Regions from separate parts of the Homo sapiens genome. Here all the other regions are linked to region 2. The links are contacts of gene promoters, found by promoter capture Hi-C in blood cells and fetal thymus (Javierre and others, 2016). All regions are on one chromosome and are shown on one strand. The core of a region is centred on a gene start or on the middle of the fragment in contact, and the rest is flanking DNA. Distances in the headings are between cores, read along the strand shown. Region 1 overlaps SLC18B1 (solute carrier family 18 member B1). Region 2 holds the start of TAAR8 (trace amine associated receptor 8). Region 3 overlaps SLC18B1 (solute carrier family 18 member B1).

The links. The method cuts DNA at HindIII sites, captures the fragments that hold promoters and counts their contacts. A CHiCAGO score of 5 or more calls a contact.
Region 1: a contact is called between a fragment that was not itself captured here and the fragment with the promoter of TAAR8 in region 2, in 1 of 17 cell types (monocytes). The highest score is 5.7, in monocytes.
Region 3: a contact is called between a fragment that was not itself captured here and the fragment with the promoter of TAAR8 in region 2, in 2 of 17 cell types (neutrophils and monocytes). The highest score is 5.7, in neutrophils.

What each region holds. Positions count from the first base shown.
Region 1 is chr6:132,792,502-132,796,560 of GRCh38, forward strand. The region is part of intron 2 of SLC18B1 (solute carrier family 18 member B1); the gene reads right to left. Among named protein-coding and RNA genes, the nearest start is that of SLC18B1, 4.1 kb to the right of the region's middle. The HindIII fragment of the contact is 1,750 bases long and covers 1,371-3,120 here.
Region 2 is chr6:132,550,515-132,554,389 of GRCh38, forward strand. It overlaps TAAR8 (trace amine associated receptor 8), which reads left to right and starts at 2,158. Exons shown (of 1, transcript NM_053278.3): 1 at 2,158-3,242. The coding sequence starts at 2,179. The coding sequence ends at 3,207. The HindIII fragment of the contact is 7,110 bases long and covers 1,772-3,875 here.
Region 3 is chr6:132,769,946-132,773,805 of GRCh38, forward strand. It overlaps SLC18B1 (solute carrier family 18 member B1), which reads right to left. Exons shown (of 14, transcript NM_052831.3): 10 at 3,048-3,143; 11 at 2,187-2,261; 12 at 1,091-1,184; 13 at 945-994; 14 at 1-391. The coding sequence ends at 325. Among named protein-coding and RNA genes, the nearest start is that of VNN2, 14 kb to the left of the region's middle. The HindIII fragment of the contact is 3,459 bases long and covers 1-3,207 here.

The DNA of each region.
Region 1 (4,059 bases), core at 996-3,495, 240 kb after region 2:
GCCTATAGCAATTAATACTTATTAGACCCTCATTATGAGCCAGAATCTCTTTATTAAGTGCCGTTTTACATGGTATCTAACAACAATTAAATTAAATAAAGGATACATTTTTAGCTGGCCTCATTTATAGATGAGGACAGGAACTTGCAAAGGTTACAGGTCATGAGCCACTACAGTTTCCATCATGTGCATGTTCCCATATTCGCTGTGGAAATGGAATGCTGACACAGGATGTGCTAGAACCACATGCTACAGCAGCAGCCGAATGTCATTTTTGGAACATGGATCCTGCTTCACATTAGGAAAGCAAAAACAGCTATTAAAAGCAATTTCTAGGCCGGGCACAGTGGCTCACTCCTGTAATTCCAGCAATTTAGGAGGCCAAGGCGAGTGGATCACCTGAGGTCAGGAGTTCGAGACCAGCCTGGCCAATATGGTGAAACCCCGTCTCTACTAAAAATACAAAAAAATTAGCTGGGTGTGGTGATGCGCGCCTGTAATCCCAGCTACTTGGGAGACTGAGGCGGGAGAATTGTTTGAACTCAGGAGGCGGAGGTTGCAGTAAGCTGAGACGATGCCGCAGCACTCCAGCCTGGGCATGATGGAACGAGGCTCTGTCTCAATAAATAAATAAATAAATAAGCAATTTCTGGTCCTCTGACAAAAGATGAGTGTGGCAAGAAAAATGATGAATAGAAGTAGGAATCCCACACCATAATTTAAGAAAGGCACTGTTTTTCCTTTGCCCAGTTAGCTTAGCTAATAAGAAAAATGACAGAACATGCAGGAGGAAGGGTGAGGCTTCACCAATGCATTTGTTGACCACAAGATTTTAATCAGAAATGAAAAATCAAAGCCTTCTCTTCATATTTACAGCTTTTAAAGTTAGAATGTTCTCTCTCCTGCCTCTATCTCCTTTCTTTCAGCCTTCCCTCTGCGAGGCGAGACAAAAGTAGCAAATGTAAGAAGTCACATTTTGCTCACTTCTGCTTGCCAGCATAATGTCATAAAACCCCTGACTCTGTGACAACATGCAACTCTTGGGAGGGATGAGTTGAAGACAGAGCAGGATAGAGCACATGGTCCCCCACATCTCTTGCCTGAGCTATTACATTCCTTAAATGATAAATGCCCCAGCTTTGCCTTTTCCTACACATAAGATAACATCTAACAGGGTTGTGATTATGCGTTTATAAACTATTACCAAAGGTACATTCATAATCTATAACCAGATGTACTCTTACACCCAAACTTTGATGTGACCGTGCATGTACTGAGTCTCTACTACCTGTACATGAACTGTGAACTGAAATACTCAGCCTATAGTCCTCGGTAAGACTTCTGAATAAAATGAACTTTAATTCTTTAAAAGCTTGACTTTTTTCTTTGGTCATCATTTCCTATAAGCACAAAACTCAATCAAAAACTTAAAAAGCACACACCCACAGCATGGTTTTCCTTTGTCCCTATTCACTTAGAGGAAACTAACATTAGTTGCACTCACTGAGTTCCAGCTGAGCTAGGAAATGCCCTTCTCACTGGTTGATTCACTCACTCCAATTCTTCTCCATCTCAATTCCACAGGCTCTTATTATTTTTTTTTTAATTTTTTTTTTTTTTGAGATGGAGTCTCACTCTGTTGCCCAGGCTAGAGTGCAGTGGGGCGATCTCGGCTCACTGCAACCTCCACCTCCTGGGTTCAAGCAATTCTCCTGTCTCAGCCTCCTGAGTAGCTGGGACTACAGTCACGTGCCACCATGCCTGGCTAATTTTTGTATTTTTAGTACAGACAGGGTTTCACCATGTTGGCCAGGCTGGTCTCAAACTCCTGACCTCAGGTGATCCTCCCACCTCAGCCTCCCAAAGTGCTGGGATTACAGGCGTGAGCCACCATGCCTGGCATTATTATTGTTATTATTATTATTTAAAAATCCCAAGTCTGGCCAGACTGCTCTTTCTTGCTCAAACACCTCTGATGACTGCCCACTGACTAAGTCCTTGACAAGTGCCCTTCCTTTCTATCTTAGGCCTGCCTCCTCAGATCCACTGTCTCCTATTAGACCTCACTTCACCCCAGGCTCAAGCCACATCAAGAAGCTGTCTGTTGTTCCCCAGGAACATGCCATTCACTCTGCTCTTCCTGTGACTATACCTAGAACACCTCCATCTCTGTTGTTCACCATAAGAATTAACACTTCTTAGGGCCCACCTTAGGCCAGGTGCGGTGGCTCACACCTGTAATCCCAGCATTTGAGAGGCCTGGCCAACATGGTGGACGGATTGCTTGAGCTCAGGAGCTCAACATCAGCCTGGGCAACATGGTGAAACCCCATCTCTACTAAAAATAGAAAAAAATAGCTAGGCGTGGTGGCACATGCCTGTGCCCCAGCTCCTCAGGGGGCTGAGGCGAAAGGATCTCTTGAGCCTGGGAAGTTGAGGCAGCAGTGAACTCTGATCATGCCACTGTACTTTCAGCCTCGATGACAGAGTGAAACCCTGTCTCAAAAAAAAAGCCCCAACTTAGATTTAGCCTGAAAGTTCCTTTCAGTAACGCCCTTTCTTCTGCTATCCACACTCCATGTATGGCAGAATTAACCATTCTTCTTTCTAGGCTCTCATAACATTAGTATGGATAGAGGGAAGCCAGAAGAAAATGATTTAAAAAAAGAAAAAAAAAAACAGTCTTATAACATTCTGGACATCCTTTTCTTAAGGGATATCCAAATTATTGGAACCTTTTTTTTCCCATATTTTTTCACTCCCAAAGGGCAGACAAGAGAAAGCCATTTCCCTGATTTTTTTATACTACCCTAACACATCCCATGCTTAGCCTGCTCTAGAGAAGGGACTCATTAAACCTCTAGTTAATAGAACTGAATTGGGCAAGTCACAACTTCTGAGACCGTTTCTTCATTTGCAACATGCTGAGATTCTCAAGATTCTGTATGAGGTTGTTGCGGGGATTAAATGGATAAATAAGGGGTAATGTGTACTAGAAGCCAGAGAGCACTGTATGGGTACATGGCAATATTGTTCCTTTAGCAGAGAAGCCACTTTATCTTCTTTTGTAACACACAGAACGAAGGACTACATGTTTAAAAGGCAGTTGGAGGACTAACAAGCTTCCACTGCACTGTGAGCCAAGGATTTGGCAAAAAGCACAAAATAAAACACATGGATATGTTGTCTACACTCCAAGCCAGTCATATTCATTTCATACTATATCCTATTGACGTCTAGAATCCAGTTGGACTTTCTAGGGATTATTATCTTTGAATCTGTGTCATTAGCTATAAATCTTAACACCATATAAAAGGCTATGCCTAGAAGGAATAGGCCCTATTAATCAGAATTCCTCCCTTGCATAAACATTGGCGCTAGAGTCCATAAGAAATTAAAGTCAAAAGAGGGAATATGGAGCGGGGCCGGGGCTGGGCGTGGTGGCTCACGCCTGTTATCCCAGCACTTTGGGAGGCCAAGGTAAGCAGATCACCTGAGGTCAGGAGATCGAAGCCAGACTGCCCAACATGGCAAAAACCTGTCTCTACTAAAAATACAAAAATTCGGCCGGGCACGGTGACTCACGCCTGTAATCCCAGCACTTCGGGAGGCGGAGGCGGGCAGATCATGAGGTCAGGAGATGGAGACCATCCTGGCTAACACGGTGAAACCCCGTCTCTACTAAAACAATACAAAAAAAAAAATTAGCTGGGCGTAGTGGCGGGTACCTGTAGTCCCAGCTACTTGGGAGGCTGAGGCAGGAGAATGGCGTGAACTCAGGAGGCGGAGCTTGCAGTGAGCCGAGATCGCGCCACTGCACTCCAGCCTGGGCGAGAGTGCGAGACTCCATCTCAAAAAAAAAAAAAAAAAAAAAATTACCCGGACGTGGTGGTAGGCGCCTGTAATCCCAGCTACTCGGGAGGCTGAGGCAGGAGAATCAATTGAACCCGGGAGGCAGAGGTTGCAGTGAGCCAAGATCACAACATTGCACTCCAGCCTGGGCAACAAGAGCGAAACCCTGTCTCGAAAGGAAAAAAAAAAAAAAAAAAAAAAGGAAGG
Region 2 (3,875 bases), core at 908-3,407:
ATGCTTTTGGTCTTTAAATTGCATGTATCACATTTCAGAATATAGAGAAGCAAGGTTACTCAGTAAGAGTAGGGTGAGATCAAGTTAGGTTTGAGAATTAAAGGAAAGGTAAAATAGCATTGCCAAAAAGAATTTGGTAGATGATCAACTGAATGATTGTTTTTATGTCACACCTTTAATACATGTATTAATTTATTTCTATATATTTTTAGTACCTTTATCCTAACTGGCATATCATATCTGTATTTTCAAGTCCTATATATACTGCTGTGGAGGAAAAAGGTCTTTATCATTTCCTACTTAGTAGGTGCCATATAGGATCAAAATTAGCTATTTTTTTCCCCCAGGCCTGAAATTCTTTTTATGGAGCTTCATTCCTTAATCTCGCTTCTTAATCCCCTAAATTACTGTTAGTATTATGGGGACAAGCCTGTATGTCAAGAAAGGCTGTTATTTTCAGAACTGCCTGGACCTCAGCTTCTACACCCTCTTGTCTGGAAATTTCGCAGTTACCTCCACATGGGGTATTCTTTGCCTCATCATTGAGCTGCTATTACAAAGAGATAATTTAATATCTGAAATGAAACAGGCAGTTATTCCATGGGCATATGACTGGGGCAGCAGTGCAGAGACCTACTATTAGGGTTTCATGCTCATAGTTGCTGTCTTGAATTTCTGTCTTTGAAATTCAAATGTGTGTGTTGTTAAGTGAAGAGACAATGGAGCATGTGCTGGGTGCTTGGAACTTCAGACCACTAGTAGTCTTGCATTACACCTTGTTCCTTCTTCCCTGGGAGGGGTATTCAGCCTCATGTTCCCCTGCCCCCTGGCACCTTGGGCTCCATCCAGTCTCCTCCTACCCGCTCTGACCAGGGACCACTGCCATCCTCTTTTCATCCCTGCAGAGGACTGGATGCATCACAGGGAGAGTTGCAGCCAGGCACATCCTCCACAGTCTCAGGGCTAGGCATAGACTGTTGCCTCCATCTCCCGCTGGCAGCGTCACAGCACGTTTGATGAGCTCCTCAGCAGGGCCAAGCCCCTCATGAACCCCAATCCAGGTATCAAGTGCTTTCTGCTGTGCAGGTTGTAATCCCTTGGGGGTCATTGGTCTGCCTTTTGTTGAGGTAGCAGGCCTGTGAGAAGGGCAAATCCCTGGCTCAGCTTCTCACCCCCATCCTGACTATGGCATATTACTTCAGCAGCTGGTAGGAGGGGGAATCTGGCAGTGGGTGGACCATGTGCAAGCTGAGTTGCAAGGCAGGGAATGCAGACACCTGTGAGAGTCCTCACTTGCCCTGCAAATACCTCTTTGTCCAAGGGCATTCCATAGCAAATATCGAACACTATGACAGGCCAAGAAAGACCATAAAAGAAAGGTAAAAGCTTTCTATTTCAGTACCTTTAATGACACTTTTTGTCCATACTTTTGAACAAGGGTCTCTGCATTTTATTTTGTGCTGGATGCTGCAAATTATATAGATAGTCTTGTAAATAAGGAATAGGTAATACTATTGTCAAATCTTGGGTTAGGCTATTTCAGGACAGTTGAACTTAAAGAAATCTCATGGTTATGAAAATCATAAGTGTTTCTACCAAGTTGCAGAGCACAGAGAAACAGTTCTCCTATTGTAGGTGAACTTATTAATTATAATTATCAAAAGTGGGATTCATTTCATGATTCACACCTTACACTATGGGGATTCCTTGTGAAGAATTTATAATGGGTACAATGGATTGGCTGGCTTCCTAAAATGTCCTAGGAGATGGAAGCTTATTAAAAGGTGACTTCTCAAATATGTAATTATATTATACATGATCGTCCTTTGAAAAGAAGGATTCACATGTATATAAAACCAGGTATTTAAATTACATTTCTTCAATTACTTGGTTAATGTGATTACTCAGCTGATGAAAATTCATAGTAGATTTGCTTGGGGTTAATGACGAGGTTTAGACATAGCGACAGAAATAATTATGAGATTAAAGACAGAATTATCTTTTATGTTTTTGAATTTAATTTCTCTTTATAATTAAAATTGAAAAAGAATATAATATGAAACAAAATTTGTAAGTACTCACATATGCAGTTTGTTTTTGTTTTAATTTTCAGAATTCAAAATTATAATTCCCTATCACAAGGAAGGACAGAAATAGCAAACAACAAACAGCAGAACCATGACCAGCAATTTTTCCCAACCTGTTGTGCAGCTTTGCTATGAGGATGTGAATGGATCTTGTATTGAAACTCCCTATTCTCCTGGGTCCCGGGTAATTCTGTACACGGCGTTTAGCTTTGGGTCTTTGCTGGCTGTATTTGGAAATCTCTTAGTAATGACTTCTGTTCTTCATTTTAAGCAGCTGCACTCTCCAACCAATTTTCTCATTGCCTCTCTGGCCTGTGCTGACTTCTTGGTAGGTGTGACTGTGATGCTTTTCAGCATGGTCAGGACGGTGGAGAGCTGCTGGTATTTTGGAGCCAAATTTTGTACTCTTCACAGTTGCTGTGATGTGGCATTTTGTTACTCTTCTGTCCTCCACTTGTGCTTCATCTGCATCGACAGGTACATTGTGGTTACTGATCCCCTGGTCTATGCTACCAAGTTCACCGTGTCTGTGTCGGGAATTTGCATCAGCGTGTCCTGGATTCTGCCTCTCACGTACAGCGGTGCTGTGTTCTACACAGGTGTCAATGATGATGGGCTGGAGGAATTAGTAAGTGCTCTCAACTGCGTAGGTGGCTGTCAAATTATTGTAAGTCAAGGCTGGGTGTTGATAGATTTTCTGTTATTCTTCATACCTACCCTTGTTATGATAATTCTTTACAGTAAGATTTTTCTTATAGCTAAACAACAAGCTATAAAAATTGAAACTACTAGTAGCAAAGTAGAATCATCCTCAGAGAGTTATAAAATCAGAGTGGCCAAGAGAGAGAGGAAAGCAGCTAAAACCCTGGGGGTCACGGTACTAGCATTTGTTATTTCATGGTTACCGTATACAGTTGATATATTAATTGATGCCTTTATGGGCTTCCTGACCCCTGCCTATATCTATGAAATTTGCTGTTGGAGTGCTTATTATAACTCAGCCATGAATCCTTTGATTTATGCTCTATTTTATCCTTGGTTTAGGAAAGCCATAAAACTTATTTTAAGTGGAGATGTTTTAAAGGCTAGTTCATCAACCATTAGTTTATTTTTAGAATAAGTTTAAGCACTAAGTTGAGAAAATTAAGAATATTTTTAAAATTATGAATTTATAAGGAAATTAAATATAAGAAACAAATAAAACTTTTCAAAATTGGAGAAATATATCACTTTTCAAATTAACCAGGAAAAAGGTCACAGGAAGATTAAACTATTAAACTATTGTAAAGATATTGACTACATTAAATAATAAATGATAAAGTGGTTCACACATGTCACTTGTCTCTATGTTTTGTACACATCCTTGCCACATGCACTTGTTTTTTCCGATTTACTGAATTCTGAATTGCATTTTTGGATGTGAAATTTTGAATCATCTTTTTTTTTTAATGCTCAACTTTCATTTATTTTCAAGTGGACTTTTTTTCTTTTCTTCTCTTTTCTTTTTTTTTTTTTTTTTGAGATGGAGTTTTGCTCTTGTTGCCCAGGCTGGAGTGCAGTGGCGTGATCTCGGCTCACTGCAACCTCCGCCTCCCAGGTTCAAGCGATTCTCCTGCCTCAGCCTCCTGAGTAGCTGGGATTACAGGCACATGCCACCATGTCTGACTACTTTTTGTATTTTTTAGTACAGATGGAGTTTCACCATGTTGGCCAGGCTGGTCTCGAACTCCTGACCTCAGGTGATCTGCCCACCTCAGCCTCCCAAAGTGTTGGAATTACAAGTGGCCA
Region 3 (3,860 bases), core at 228-2,727, 220 kb after region 2:
ATAAGAACTAACTCGAGTTAATAACAACATCTTTAAGGACAAGTTTGGTCATTTAAAAACTAAGTCTTGTTTTGTTTTGCTTGTTTTTAATTACTCCTTTCATACTTAATATTTCAAATATAGCTGCTTCAGCAGGACAGCTTTTCAGTATCACAGTAAGTACAGCCCAATACAGGATCATCCAAAAACACGTTGACACTTCCAAGACACTGGCACGGGGTCCACGGAGTTTTGCGCGTAAAATTTTAAAAACCCTTCCTACGGTGATGTTTAAGGCCAGGAGCATTCATTTCTCAACCTTGTATCAATCCAGGATCCATCGGACTAGGTTTCATTAGGCAAGAGAGTAGTTCGTTCCTCCTCTGTGCTGAGGATGTTTTGAGATTTAGACCTACATTGAGGGAAAGAAGAGATGAATCTCAATATTTCTCATCTTAAAAACAAACAAACAAACAAAAAACCAGTACCTGTATCTCCATCCAACTATCTTTTTAAAAAAGTTTCTACTGCCCGGGCATGGTGGCTCACGCCTGTAATCCCAGCATTTTGGGAGGCAGAGGCAGGCGGATCACTTGAGGTCAGGAGTTCGAGACCAGCCTGGCCAACATGGTGAAACCCTGTCTCTACTAAAAATACAAAAATTAACTGGGCATGGTGACCCATGCCTGTAATCTCAGCTACGTGGGAGGCTGAGGCAGGAAAACCGCTTGAACCCGGGGGGCAGAAGTTGCAGTGAGCTGAGATTGTGCCACTGCATGCCAGTCTGGGTGACAGAGCAAGACACCATCTCAAAAAATAAAAATTAAAAAAGTATCTACCAACTGATGAGCCTCAGAGTGCTTAGAAATCCACTGACTGGAAGAATAAATGTAAAATGTTATTTATTTTCCACTTGCACTGGCTAACTTTTAAAGAGAGAAAAAAAGCCCCAAAATTGACCATACCTTTTTCTCCTTGAATACTCCAGTAGATAAAACAAGCCCATGGCTAATCCCTTAAACACAATTAAAAGTACTGATTAATGTAAATTTTCCAAGTCAAGTTTTTCCACAAATATAAGGAAAATGCAAATAAAAGACTGATTACTCACACTTATCAGAGCCCATAGACCTTGTATAGCTGCTGCCCATTCAAAACCAATTTTCTCATACAGAAATCCACCCAGCGTTGGTCCCATAAAAGCACTAACAATAGAAAGAAGAAAAAGTATTCAATAGTGCAAAAAATAAATAATTACTTCATGAAAAGCTACATGATCCTTCAATTGTAAGTCTTCATTACATTGGAAGATAAGTACTAAAGATAAAGCTAATTCCTGGGCACAGCATTCAGTAAAAGAAAATAATTCTACCTGATAATGACATTCAAAATTTTTTAACAATTTTGAAATTATTACTGCTTCTGAAAAGTTGATGGCTTATATAAAAATAAAAAATATGAAACAGATTTAAAAAATTCTTTATATTATTCTATTCTCAGTATTTGCAACTAATATAACTCAATTCAAAACAATATATTACATTGTTAGCATAGTTACCCTTCTGGTAGAAGGTAAAAAATAAACAAATGAATGAATAAATGAATAAATTGTAAAAATCAGAGACATGTTTCTATTAAAGGAACTTATAAATACCACTCAAATAAGATAAAGTATATGAAACCATTTTGACTAAGTATTAAACTGTTGGTATAGGCATTGATTGTTGAGTGAAAGGGTATGGATTAGAACTCTGGCTTTCCCCTAGATGAACTGTTTGTCTTTGAGAAACTCATCTGATCCCTCAGTGTTTCAATTTCTTCATCAACATCAAGCAGGGATAGTATTAATATTTTCCATCTTGCAAGTATGAATGAAATTAAATGAGGCTGGGCACAGTGGCTCATGCCTGTAATCCCAGCACTTTGGGAGGCCAAGGCGGGCAGATCACCTGAGGTCAGGAGTTCAAGACCAGCCTGGCCAACACGGTGAAACCCTGTCTCTACTAAAAATACAAAAATTAGCCAGATGTGGTGGTGGGCACCTGTAATCTCAGCTACTCAGGAGGCTGAGATAGAAGAATCTCTTGGACCTGGGAGGCGGAGGTTGCAGTGAGCCAAGATCGCACCATTGCACTCCAGCCTGGGTGATGAGAGTGAAACTCCATCTCAAAAAAAAAAAAAAAGAAAGAAATTAAATGACTACTCACCCAATTGACCACATTGCACTAAAAAGACCTGATACAAGTCCCAATGTACTTAATCCCTCTTCAAACCCATTTTCACTGCAAAAAGAGACATGAGTGTATCCATTATTAAAAGGAAAACCTGTGTGAAAGAAAAAATTGTATGATAGATCAATTAAGATAAACCAAGGATAATCTGGAAAAAAACCAACAGCAAGAATACTCTGCTTCTAAGATAAAAAGCAAATCTTATTTAAAAGAATTTTCATAGTTACATTTACTCCATGGTTTTCTAGAAATAATTTTTCTGCATATATATATGATATTAAGAAGCATGGCTCATTTGCATTAAATACTTATAAAAATATATAATTAAGAAATTCTTAAAATGAGATGAAGATGGAAAGAGAACAAAGGCAACTTTTAAAAAACAGAGATAGTTCCTTATTCCCATGAGAACTATTGAACTGACCCAGCACAGCCATAGTACTTAGTGTTCTTCATCATCATGCCTATTAAACAAAAGAATGATGACCAGGTGACAGATGCTGGTCACTCTAGGCTCTCTCATGGACCTCCTCCATGAAAGAGGAACAATGCTGAGACCTATCTATTTTGCTTTAGCTTTTCAAAATTACTTACATACTGAGGCATAAACCAAGCCAGACATCTGTCCACAACCCATTTTAGCTATTAATGTACTATTATCATTTCTATTAGTGTATTATTACTATTTATATCATAATATCATATGCTACAAAATCATGAAGATTTAACATTGGGGCAAAAATATCCAACATGCTGCAAAATTGAGAAATTCAAGAAAGCCTGTGATACTTACTACTTATTCACAATACAGCTCTTCAAGCAATGGAAGTAACTTACTGTGCACAACTGAGAATTTCCGGGAAAGTTGGAATTATACTCATTCCAGCAGAGAGGCCACTTACAACTAATATCAGCACCAGCAGCCAGAGCTGACTGCAAAAGGGTTTTGGAGAAAACAAATACAAAAAGAAAAACATTAGCGTTTTAACAAACACAAAGCTTAATGCTAAGGAAGTGAGGATCCCTGATAAGTTATTTCACCGATTATGTGCCTAGTCTCATTCCCTTTCCCATCTAACCCATTTCATTCAGTTAGAGTGTCCTTTAGCTCCTTACAGTTTTGGGGGCGGGGGGGTGGGGGGGAATTCATCCTGATATCTCCATCTCTTTGGTCCTTTGGTTACACATATCACATATCTGGAGCCAACCTGGCTTCTTCTCACCAGACAAAATCCCTTCAAAATTGGTGAAAACGTCAGTACTAAAACTGTTCTTTCAATCACTCGGCTTTGAACTTCAATTAATTTAAAGATGGCATAGAAGGAAAGAGGTAAAAGAAGAGTCAGGAAACACATTTGTTCCATGTGAGGAGACTATGCCAGTTACTTAATATATGTTACCAGATTTAATCCTTGTAATGTAAGTACTATTATCAGCTCCTTTTTGTAGATGAGAAAACCGAGGCTCTTGGAAGTTAAGTGGTTTGCTTATTAGTACATGGCAAAGCCAAAATGTAAACTCAGGTCTGAAGGACTCTGAAACCCCTTCCTTTCCAGGTTACTATGTTTTATCCCAGAAGTACCTGAAAAGGTCTAAGAAGTTCAGTTTATTTTAGCAACTAAATTACATTAAGCAAGGTCTAATAAGCAG